Linked DNA regions of Homo sapiens: regions 1 and 2 are each linked to region 3. The links are contacts of gene promoters, found by promoter capture Hi-C in human tissues and cell types (Jung and others, 2019). All regions are on one chromosome and are shown on one strand. The core of a region is centred on a gene start or on the middle of the fragment in contact, and the rest is flanking DNA. Distances in the headings are between cores, read along the strand shown.

Region 1 (3,676 bases), core at 1,135-3,634, 760 kb after region 3:
CATGGGTAAAAGAGGGAGTGAAGAGCTGGGCTAGACTCTTCAATCAGAGTAAAGAGGAAATGGAAGCCGATAAGGGACACTTGGATAAAAGAATGATCTAAACATGTAAACATTTATTTCTGCTGAGACTTTGTGTTTAATACTGTCTAATGAAGGTTGCTTTTTGGACTAGAAAGTAGTATATTGGAGAAAATATAGAAAAAAGCCCCTGAAAGAAAAAGATTGGATATATAATGTAAAAAGTACAAGGAGACTGGATTTGAGAGAATATAAAAACGACAGAGACCCTGAGTAAATATGACCTAGGAAGACGAACCTATTGGAATGACAAAGACAGTTTAAAAGTAGGATGAAACAACACTGCAAGAGGAGGAAGGGGTTGAGTATGACTCAAGGAACCCTACTGGAGTTCCAAAAGGCTTCTAAAACAAAGGTGATCATCTTACCAAGGAAATGCCTGTACTGTCAGGCAAAAGGGCAAGACAAGGAAAAAGAATAACAAAAGAACATAAGAATGGTGAAGGGAAAAGAAAGAATATAATGATGGGGGTTGGTAAATGGCATTCCCTGGATGTACTACTTACTTCCAAAACACAGACCAAATAAATTCCAAGATGCCAGGTGAGGATTCCCTCCCTTACCCGACACGTTCTAGTCATACTAAAAAAGGCACAGATTATCTTCAAATGCCCCAGAGTCCCTATAGTAGAGGTATCTACTCAACTTTACCTCTAACAGAAAAGGATGCAAGAAAAGCTTTGTAAAACACAAGAATAGAGGGGGTGTTACTAATGATGCTTCCTTCTGCTTCCAAAAGTAGTTCAAGGACTAGTACATCAAGAGCTTTAGAGTAAACAGATCAGCCTGGAGTTCGGGCGCCTGGCAACCTAATACTGAAGGAGAAACCAGCTGCCAGTTTTAGTGAAATTCAAATGATTATGTAAAAGGAGCCAAGCTGCCTGGAGCGGGGGGAGGTGCGGGTGGCAGACTCACATGTCAGTGTAGCCAGTCTACGTCAGGACAGACGTGTATGCAGAAGGACTCAATGGACCCAGAAGGTAGCCCACTAGGAGTAAAAGGAGTCAACAGGGCATGCTTCCAGTGTACTCACCTTTCTTTGCTTGGGGGCCAGCCAATCATGCAGGGCTTCCTAGCAACCCCCACTCTCCACCTTCTCATCCCGGGGCACCAATGAGGGCCCCCAGTTATATAACAGGCATTTTGTGGTGGCCTCACTGGACAGACACGTAGGCTATTTCCTTTGTAAGACTCTCTCTGTACTCCAAACATGGTAAAGCTTTAATCACCTCCCTCTAGACTCATTTGCTCTCCTACCTATTGTTGTAATTAGACCACAGAACAAGCAAATTATTTTTAAACTACCAGCTATGAGAAAGCTGAAAGAGATCAGGAGAGGCCTGGAGTGTGAGAAAGATATACAGAAAAAGTGGCTAGAGAGAGGACATTTGGGAAAAGCAGAGAAAAAGAAGAAACAGAAAAGTGCATCAGTCAGAAAATGTGTTTAACAGGCAGCAGGAAAACAGAAGATTGGATCACTCCAAAATCAGTCTGCTCACGTATGCAAGCTTGAAAGTCCTTACCTAGAAAATTATTCTAAGAGGCCGGGCACGGTGGCTCACCCCTGTAATCCCAGCGCTTTGGGAGGCCGGGCGGGCCAATCATGAGGTCAGGAGTTTGAGACCAGCCTGGCCAACATCGTGAAACCCCGTCTCTACTACAAAAAATTAGCCGGACGTGGTGGCAGGTGCCTGTAATCCCAGCTACTCGGGAGGCTGAGGCAGGAGAATCACTTGAACCCGGGAGACAGAGGTTGCAGTGAGGCGAGACCACGCAGTCTGGGCAACAGAGAGAGACTCCGTATTAAAAAAAAAAGAAAGGAAAAAGAAAATTATTCTAAGACTGAAATATTTGTTCATTTCCCCCCTGCCCCGCGAAGCTATAATACAATTTATGGGACTCTGAGTCTATGGGACTTGAATTTCTTTTCCTTTTTTGAGACGAAGTCTCGCTCTCGTCCCCCAGGCTGGAGTGCAATGAATGGCGCGATCTCGGCTCACTGGAACCTCCGCCTCCTGGGTTCAAGCGATTCTCCTGCCTCAGCCTCCTGAGTAGCTGGGATTACAGGCACCTGCCACCATGTCCGGCTAATTTTTTTTCTTTTGAGACGAAGTCTCGCTCTCGTCCCCCAGGTTGGAGTGCAATGGCGCCATCTTGGCTCACTGCAAGCTCCGCCTCCCGGGTTCACGTCATTCTCCTGCCTCAGCCTCCCGAGTAGCTGGGACTATAGGCGCCCGCCACGGCGCCCAGCTAATTTTTTGTATTTTTAGTAGAGACGGGGTTTCACTGTGTTAGCCAGGATGGTCTCGATCTCCTGACCTCGTGATCCGCCCCCCTCAGCCTCCCAAAGTGCTGGGATTACAGGCATGAGCCACCGCGCCCGGCCAATTTTTGTATTTTTTTTAGTAGAGACAGGGTTTCATCATGTTGGCCAGGCTGGTCTTGAACTCCTGACCTCAGATGATCCACCCGCCTCGGCCTCCCAAAGTGCTGAGCTTACAGGGGTGAGCCACCGCGCCTGGCCAAATTTATTTTTCTAACCACTCCTCTTCTTTCTTAAAAAGAAAAGAATATAATTCTTTTCTTTTTAAGCAATGTAAATTGCTTTTTTCCAAATCCTACTCCTACTTTGGTGTTTTAATCCCTGAAGAAAAGGTAATACTGTGCTTCTTAACCAGGGTAATTAACAGAATGCCAAAGGATACAAGTTTCTGGACAAATTTGATGCATCTGCCTGGAGGCACCAATTTTAACTCGAAGGAGTGGGGGTGTTACCCATAAAACAGATGCAATGGCAACGAATACGAAGTTCACCTTACATTTTAATTTAGGGAAGCTTCAAAGAAATTCCATGTTTGCTTATAGTAGCAGAACCCCTATAGTTCATTCACTCTCCTCTGCTGTTAACGACACTTCAGTAAAAAAGTTTGACAAACATTAAATAAGTGACAAAAAAGATAAAGGAACATTTATGTTCATTAAGTAGACATTTAATGAGAGCTTTGGATGTGCCAGACACTTTGGTAAATCCAAGAGATACACAAATGAAAAAGCATAGGTTTCTGTCCTTAAGGAGGCTACAAGCCTTTTTTTTTTTGAGACAGGGTCTCACTTTGTCACCCAGGCTGGAGTGCAGTGGCGCGATCTCGGCTCACTGCAACCTCCAGCTCCCAGGTTCAAGCGATTCTCCTGCCTCAGCCTCCCGAATAGCTGGGATTACAGGTATGCACCATCATACCCGGCTAATTTTTATATTTTTAGTAGAGACGGGGTTTTACCATGTTGGCCAGGCTGGTCTTGAACTCCTAACCTCAAATGATCCGCCCCCCTCAGCCTCCCAAAGTGCTGGGATTACAGGCATGAGTCACTGTGCCCAGCCAGGAGGCTACAAGTCTATTATAATAATTTTCAATCCTGGTGAAATCTCATGGTATGTTTTTTAAAATGCTGCCATCCAGGTTGCAACCCCTGGAGATTCTGATTCATCTCAGATTGGGCCCTGGCATTAGTTTTGTTTTCTTGATGGTTCGTTCCCTAGGTGATCCTAATAGGCAGCCAGGGTTGAAACCACAGGGTGTCACACTGACCACTCTCCGGC
Region 2 (4,008 bases), core at 353-2,852, 790 kb after region 3:
AGGTTGGAGTGCAGTGGTGGGATCTCAGCTCACTGTAACCTCCACCTCTCAGATTCAAGCTATTCTCGTGGCTCAGCCTCCTGAGTAGCTGGGACTACAGGTGCGCACCACCATGCCTGGCTAATTTTTTGTATTTTTAGTAGAGATGGGGTTTTACCACACTGGCCAGGCTAGTCTCAAACTCCTGACCTCAAGTGATCCAGCCGCCTTGGCCTCCGAAAGTGCTGGGATTACAGGCATGAGCCACTGTGACCAGCCTCCGTGTAAATCTATACAATCTATTCCTCAGCTCCTTTCCAGAATATCCTGGAAGACATGTAAAACATGTATGTGAGTGTGCACATATGGATTAAATAATAAATCACTTCCAGGAAGGAAAGGAAGTTTGGTTATCTTTAAACAATTTCTGTGGGGTTTTTTTTGGTACTTTGATTATGCTTTCAAAAACAATATTCCAGATTTCTTTCCTCTTTTCCATCCTCAGATTCCTTTGCCTAACATCTTCCCTAAGGACTAACCTCTCCCCATCCAAATGAGATTACAATACCCTCCTCTCCTACTTAACTTTCTTTTTCTTTTTTGAGACAGAACCTCACTCCGTTGCCCAGGCTGTAGTGCAGTAGCGCAATCTCAGCTCACTGCCACCTCTGCCTCTTGGGTTCAAGCTATATTTGCCCCTCAGCCTCCCAGGTAGCTGGGATTACAGGCGTGCGCCACCACATCTGGCTAATTTTTGTATTTTTAGTAGAGATGGGGTTTCGCCATGTTGGCCAGGCTGGTCTCAAACTCCTGGCCTCCCAAAGTGCTGGGATTACAGGGGTGAGCCACCGCGCTCAGCCTACTTTAACTTTCATTCACTCTAATATACAACCCCTCTCAGCCTCAGGAAAACGCACCACTGAGGTTCATTTTTCAGAAAATAAATAGAGGAAGTATGACATAAAAGGAATTTATGGCGGGGGTGGGGTGGGGGTGTCGTTTTCCTTCAACCCCATCGCTCTAATTGCTTTTAAACTCCCGGACTCTTTCAAAATGCCTTCCTAACATTTCTCTCCAGGCTCCTTTTGCTTCTCTCCGATTCTCTTGTCATTACAGATGAAGGCTTCATTAGCGATATACTGTATTCCATGTTTATTATACTAGTCTGTCCGAAGAGCTCCTACTTTTTAATGTAATCTTCATCTCTTAGGCAGCAGCTCTAGCCCATTTCCTCTCATTCAAGTAAGAACAATACCCGTCCCTATCTCCCTGCGCCCCATCCTGTGCTCTCTTTGTATTTGTCCCTTAGATTCAAACAGGATCTACCCCCTCTGCAGCCCTTCAAGAAGAGGTATGATTGCTACCACTTTTCCCCACAAAGTGACGAAAGGAAACAGCGACGGAAGCGCAACCGAACCCTGGAATTGGTGTCTCGACTGGTCCATTCCCGGCCCACCCCCATTAACCGGCTCGAGCCACTCCCAGGACGAAGTCAAGGCCTCGGAAGGCGACTACAACTCCCAGCAGGTCGAGCAGCTCCGCCCGCGCTGATTCTCCATTGGCCTTCCGGGGGTGGGGATTAGATGGGAGGTGGCCGTGGGGCTGCGGCCGGGATTTGTCCCCTCTTCGGCTTCCGTAGAGGAAGTGGCGCGGACCTTCATTTGGGGTTTCGGTTCCCCCCCTTCCCCTTCCCCGGGGTCTGGGGGTGACATTGCACCGCGCCCCTCGTGGGGTCGCGTTGCCACCCCACGCGGACTCCCCAGCTGGCGCGCCCCTCCCATTTGCCTGTCCTGGTCAGGCCCCCACCCCCCTTCCCACCTGACCAGCCATGGGGGCTGCGGTGTTTTTCGGCTGCACTTTCGTCGCGTTCGGCCCGGCCTTCGCGCTTTTCTTGATCACTGTGGCTGGGGACCCGCTTCGCGTTATCATCCTGGTCGCAGGGTGAGTAGAGGGCCCGGGAGACGCGGGAGAGCGTCGAAGAGAGAGGTGCGGAAGGGGCTGGAGGAACTGGGGCAAGCCTGGGAGCCTGAATTGGGGACGATAAGTCGGAGGTGAAGTTTGGGCGGAGGTGAGGGGTTGGGTCTGGGAGATTTGTCCTTTCCCGCAGTTGGTTTCCACCTTCCAAGGATCTCACAGATTCCTCCTATATTCCTCCCAGCGACGTCAGAGAAGGCCCAAGGCCGAGACTCGTGAGGGGGCTGTGCTGACCTAGGCAGGCCGAGTCAGGTGCCTTAGGGGAGGATCCAGGAACGGATACCTCGCCCTTCCGTGCTCGCACACTCTGGCTGTCATCGCTCTGAAGACTCTTTAATTAGATTTCTCCCCTTTCCAGTGCGTTCACTTTTCTACAGATGAGTCTCTTGGTGGAGACAGTTACCCTACCTGGTCCATGTCTCCCTAACCATCCGGAAGGCTAACTTCCACTTTTCAAGCAGCTTTGGCTGGTTTCCCTCCTTGATTTCTCTGGCTCCCACTACTATTGCTTGTCTCACTGCCCCTGTCTTTTCTCAGGGCATTTTTCTGGCTGGTCTCCCTGCTCCTGGCCTCTGTGGTCTGGTTCATCTTGGTCCATGTGACCGACCGGTCAGATGCCCGGCTCCAGTACGGCCTCCTGATTTTTGGTGCTGCTGTCTCTGTCCTTCTACAGGAGGTGTTCCGCTTTGCCTACTACAAGCTGCTTAAGTAAGAAGATGGAGTGGTCTGGAGGGGAGAGGGGCAAAGGACTGCACTATGGGAAGTGGGGCAGCCCCTGGGTGCTGGTTTGGAAGAGGAGGCACTAAGGGAGGACATTAGAGGGAAAGGAGCATCCCTGCCCTCCCTCATGTTTCCCCTACCCCACCCCACCCCAGGAAGGCAGATGAGGGGTTAGCATCGCTGAGTGAGGACGGAAGATCACCCATCTCCATCCGCCAGATGGCCTATGGTGAGCCAAGGGAGAGGGACTGGAGGAGGGAGTTGGACAGCCCCCTCCTCTAGGGAAGTCTCTAAATATCCACATGTTCTAAGTGGCTTCTTACTTTCCTTCATCCGTCACTTCCAAAGAAAGTTGGTCTGGAGGGAGAGTAGATGTGAAAGAATTGTAACCGGGAATGGGGAGGGGTCAGTGGTGAACAGGCAATAGTGTGATCTCTGACATTGATGAGATCCTCCCTTCCCCCAGTTTCTGGTCTCTCCTTCGGTATCATCAGTGGTGTCTTCTCTGTTATCAATATTTTGGCTGATGCACTTGGGCCAGGTGTGGTTGGGATCCATGGAGACTCACCCTATTACTTCCTGACTTCAGGTAAGATCCACCTTCTATCTAGCCTTTACCCCCCATCCATCCTTGTCCCTGATCTGATTTATTGGCCTTCCCTGAGAGACTTCTTTGGCTCAACATCTCAGGAGCCTGGGAGAAGATCAGGGATGTATCTCCTCCCCATCTCCCTCCCTGCAGCCTTTCTGACAGCAGCCATTATCCTGCTCCATACCTTTTGGGGAGTTGTGTTCTTTGATGCCTGTGAGAGGAGACGGTACTGGGCTTTGGGCCTGGTGGTTGGGAGTCACCTACTGACATCGGGACTGGTGAGTTGGAGACAGGGGCCTGAGTTAGGGAGAAAAGCATTTAATGGTGAGTGGGATGTGGGGGAAAGGGTATCCTCACTTCTTAACATTTTTAACTTACCTGGGAGGAGGAGGAAAGGTGAGTCTTTCAAGGTCTCTCACCTCAGCATCATTTCTATCACCTGCTCTGGGGAGGAGGTTGAAAGGATTAGTCAAACTGTAATGCAGAGGGCCTGAGGTGAGCAGGAGCGGCAGAAACCTTTGAGTTTCTGAGGAGCTGAAAATCAAAAGTCCCCTTAACCACAAGATGTTGGTGCTCTGAAGGGAAAGACTGGAGAATTTGAGAGAGATATCTGGGAGTCAGAAAGGTACAGAGAGAATATGGGGATTAGGTCGAGGGAGAATCTAATCTCTTTCCTACTCTTACCCTCCTTCCTAGACATTCCTGAACCCCTGGTATGAGGCCAGCCTGCTGCCCATCTATGC
Region 3 (4,063 bases), core at 914-3,413:
GAAACCCCGTCTTTACTAAAAATACAAAAATTAGCCAGGTGTGGTGGCAGGCGCCTATAATCCCAGCTACTCGGGAGGCTGAGGCAGGAGAATCGCTTGAACTGGGGAGGTGGAGGTTGCAGTGAGCCAAGATTGCACCACTGCACTCCAGCCTGGGCAACAGAGCGAGACTCCATCTTAAAAAAAAAAAAAAAATAGAATCATGGGGGGAAAAAATCATAGAATTTTAAAACTAGAAGACATCTTAGAAATTAATGACTTGGGAAGACTTCCAGCCAGTTTGTATAGAATCCAGATCTCATAATTCCCAATCTGATCCCTTTTTGTGTTGTACATGGATAGTTGCCAACAGCTTTATATAACCCTATACCAGTATTCCCAAAACTTAAAAGAATTTTTAGTTGCTGAAGAATAGATTTTCCGTGGTTTAGGTGATTGTTCCTGTAATTGTGATCTGAATGGGGAAAAGCAAAGGGCAGTAGAGCAAGCTAGAATCTGAGAAAAAAAAAAAAGCTCTTCGACAAACTGACTCCTTTTCTTACAACCAGAGTATGTATAAAAAACTGCTCAAACAGTCCCTGAGTGTTTGGTAGAGCTATCTTGCAATTTAAAAAGCTAAAGCAAATTTTATGAAATATTAACTCAAAAGGCCTAAAATCTCTATGTCATTGACCCAGAGACATGTACACAGGGTACCAAATACATTCAAGAAAGACATGCATGCAAACATACGTGGCATTAAAATCAAGTCAAGAACATAAAGTAATACTACACAGAAAATTGAAGTTAAAATGCTATTCACTAATGTAAGTAGTAATGACATTTTTGATTTAATATAGTATGGATTTAATTATCAAATACTCCAAATTTCGCAAAAGATCCTTTTTTGGCTAGCTTCCCCTTCCCCTCCACAAATGCTCTCCAGCCCTACTTCATCTATCTTTACATCTTTCATTATCTTAAATGGTATCATTTACTTAAAGGGTTTTGACAGTGCCTTGTACCACAATATATGTTCAATAAATGCTTCCCACTATCCTTCACTTTAAATTATCCGGGTATTTTAGGCAAAGGCAATATCTAATTATCACTCTGTTCTTAGAGATACATGATTAGCAAATGTATAGATTAGAAAGATACACTCTCGGAGCCACACAGACACGCCCAAATATCCTTTGTCCAGACCCTTTGTGGGCATCCAAGGCCTACTCAACAGGGCCTTGCTGTGTCATGCTGCCACCATGGGGAAGGGGGAAGGACAAGGTGGTGGTGGTGGTAGAGGGGAGCAGAACCTCTCTGACATCTCATAATGTGTGCCTCAGTCAGAGCTTGGATTTTCCTACTAGCATTCCTCCACCAATTCCACTGAGCTGCAAATCATTCTTTTCCAGAATCTGTCCCCATACCTAGCTCCTGTGGGCTATACTGATTTCACTATGGAATCAGGCAGTTCTCCAACACAGAGGCCCCCACCTTTCCTACCCTAGGCTGCCTCTTTCTTTGGAGCAAAGATTCGAGGTGGAATGAAAGAGATTATCCAAAGAAAGGTCAGGATTACACCCAACATTATCCCATATAACCCCCTCCCAAACTCCCTCCTACAGAGAAACATAGAACACTACAGAAAAAAATTGCAAGTATAGGGAAGTAGAGGACAGAGAGATACAGTAGGACTAAAAATTAAACAGCTGGTAAAACAAATTATGGTTTGAAAAGGAAGATAAGTAGACTGAAGATATTAAATACACAGGACAATAAATTACAGAAAAGGATACTTGAAATGAGGTAGGTGCTGAGAAATAACTACAAGTAAATTGTTAGAGATTAATGGTCTGTATAAGGTAACAAGGCATGGATGCTGTGAAGAAATAACTACCCATTGTTCATAGCGCCCCCTTCTCTCCTCTTCAGCTGTCCCCCACCTCATGTGGGGTCTTTCAATCTAACCATAAGCAGCCGCTCTTCTATCTTTGCAGCCCCCTGCCCCCTCCCTCAGTTTGGTTTACCTGTTATCAATCAATTACTGGCGTGTTCCAAAGATGGAGGGAGTGCCTCGGGAGCTCCGGGGTCTGCGCCGGGCTGGAGAAATACAAAGCTGTTGGGGCTTTGACGGCTTTGTCTTCTCACTCCTTTTCCCTCTTCAGTGACTGAGTCTGTCAGTTCACTCTCCCCCTGCAATGCAGCCCCTCCTAAGAAGGGCGGAAGGATTCCCCGCCCCCTCCTGCCTGACTCGGCTAATTCAAATGATAGGTTCCAGAACACTTGAGGGAAGGAGAGACGATGAAAGCATCTCCCTAGGCTCATTGGTCTGCGCTATTATTCCCGATCTCTTCCAGCACCCCCGTGCTGACTGGGGGCCCAATGAATGAGCAGTTAATTGCCCTCTAATTTTAGGTCCTCTAATTTATGGATTTGAAATCTTAACTCTAGACTACAATGGAAAGGAGGAGTATTCCTTTCTTCCACAATTTAAGGACTTTAGGTTACAAAGTATTTTTAAGAATCAGAGTATTTTTCCACCCCTTCTCCCAATCCCTGCTCCTCCAGACTCGCCTCTCTACCCTCACAATGGGTAAATAAACCTAGTCCTATTCCATTTTGGGTAGAGCACAATAAATTTGGGGTGGGGGGCGTGCTTCTGCGAATCTCTGAACTTGGTTAGGTCTGGGGGTTTGGGGGGCTCCGCTTCGTTTTGCCCCGAAATGCCTGGCGAGTAAAGGGAACGTGAGATTCCGGGGGCCCCAGCTTGGGTGCCAGGGCCTCATCTAGGTGTCCGCATTCTCCAGTTCTCCCCGCAGGGGCGGCGGCCTTGAGGGGCTGCAGAGGCACCCTCCCACGTCCCGCGCAGTGCAGTGCCTCCGCAGTCCAGAGGGGAGCAGTGCGCCGGGCTCCGAGCCGGACGGGTTTCGTAATCGCGTCGCCGCCGCTTCCGCCCTCAGCCGGCCCCACCTCTGCCGGCTCGTACTCGGCTCCCCCACCTCGCCGCAGAGCTAGCCCGGGAAGCCCACACTGGCGGCCACGGAGCAGAGTCCCTCACCCCCACCAGCTGTAGCTGAACGTCTGGATGGTGGAGAAGAGCAGGTGAGGCCGTGCAGTTGGTCCCCTGGCCCGCCTGCCGCGCCGGCCGGGCCAGGCGGAGACACACCGGATGCGGGGTGTGGGGGAGGCGGGTGTCCTGGGCTGCAGAGATGCTGGGGTGGTGGGAAAGGGGTGCGCGCCCGGGGTGGCCGTAGTCATCCACGCTCCTGGGGTGCGCAGGCTGAGGCCGCTGAAGAGTAGAAGGAAAAGAAGGAACTGGAATGTTGGGGGAGGTGGGAGGGAGAGGGTCCGAAAGATTCCCAGAGAGGTCCCAGTCCGGTTAAGGGTTGAGAACAGCAGAGAACTTCTAGGTAGAGTTGTGTAGTGGGGGGAGACAGATACGGAATCTGTGTGATTGAATATATTTGGGGAGGGGAGGCTTAGGGCCTAGCCCTCTTTCCTCTTAAGCCCCCAGAAGACCTTTCCTGGGGAAGGGAAGGTTGGTGTTGGGCCTGTCACTTGGCTGAAATATGGAGTCCACACCGCTTCTCCAGAGTCCCTCAGCAGCCCTCCATGTCTCGGGGTCTCCACACAGGGACCAGCTGCTGCCCCGGGCTTCTAGCCAGAATTGCCCATGCCATTCTCTCGATTCTTTCTTTCTCTCCAGCTGCTTCATGTGAGGGCTTGTCAGGCCGCGGGTTGGAGGCCTTAGGGCCAGAGGCGGTGGGACCGGGAGAACCGGTTTGGGGCCCGAACAGGACCAGAGAACTAGCCTGTACATCCTTCCTCCCTGGCACCTCTTTCCCATCCCTTCTGCTCACCTCCCAACAGCTCTGAGACCCTCAAGTCCTAGTATGATCTTGGTGGGGGCGGGGGGTGGCTTTCCCGGTTCCATATTTCACTCTTGCCATTTGGAACTCAGAGAGGTCGAGTTCTGAGCACCACTTGGCTCTCAGGACGTGGCCTTATGAGGTCTAATCCTCATCCCTCCTGTTGTTTTCTCAGCCCCTTCCCTATTCACTGTGGGGTTGGATTCGGGTGGCTC

Evidence for each region. The method cuts DNA at HindIII sites, captures the fragments that hold promoters and counts their contacts. A contact is called where the count stands out against the background at its distance.
Region 1: a contact is called between a fragment that was not itself captured here and the fragment with the promoter of MLLT11 in region 3, in 1 of the 25 tissues and cell types used here (dorsolateral prefrontal cortex).
Region 2: the fragment with the promoter of APH1A here is called in contact with the fragment with the promoter of MLLT11 in region 3 in 1 of the 25 tissues and cell types used here (lymphoblastoid cells).

What each region holds. Positions count from the first base shown.
Region 1 is chr1:150,299,842-150,303,517 of GRCh38, reverse strand. All of the region lies in intron 2 of MRPS21 (mitochondrial ribosomal protein S21), which reads right to left. Among named protein-coding and RNA genes, the nearest start is that of MRPS21, 7.8 kb to the right of the region's middle. The HindIII fragment of the contact is 5,855 bases long and covers 1-3,676 here.
Region 2 is chr1:150,266,610-150,270,617 of GRCh38, reverse strand. It overlaps APH1A (aph-1A gamma-secretase subunit), which reads left to right and starts at 1,602. Exons shown (of 7, transcript NM_001077628.3): 1 at 1,602-1,920; 2 at 2,491-2,661; 3 at 2,829-2,902; 4 at 3,140-3,262; 5 at 3,416-3,543; 6 at 3,962-4,008. The coding sequence starts at 1,808. It overlaps LOC124904414, which reads left to right. Exons shown (of 2, transcript XM_047438213.1): 2 at 1,289-1,562. The coding sequence ends at 1,562. It also overlaps a transcript of C1orf54 not described here. RefSeq lists enhancers at 1,150-1,199, 1,260-1,309, 891-1,502 and a silencer at 1,363-1,820. The HindIII fragment of the contact is 12,966 bases long and covers 1-4,008 here.
Region 3 is chr1:151,058,497-151,062,559 of GRCh38, reverse strand. It overlaps MLLT11 (MLLT11 transcription factor 7 cofactor), which reads right to left and starts at 2,163. Exons shown (of 2, transcript NM_006818.4): 1 at 2,007-2,163. It overlaps CDC42SE1 (CDC42 small effector 1), which reads left to right and starts at 2,938. Exons shown (of 5, transcript NM_020239.4): 1 at 2,938-3,081. RefSeq lists an enhancer at 2,026-2,617. The HindIII fragment of the contact is 8,370 bases long and covers 591-4,063 here.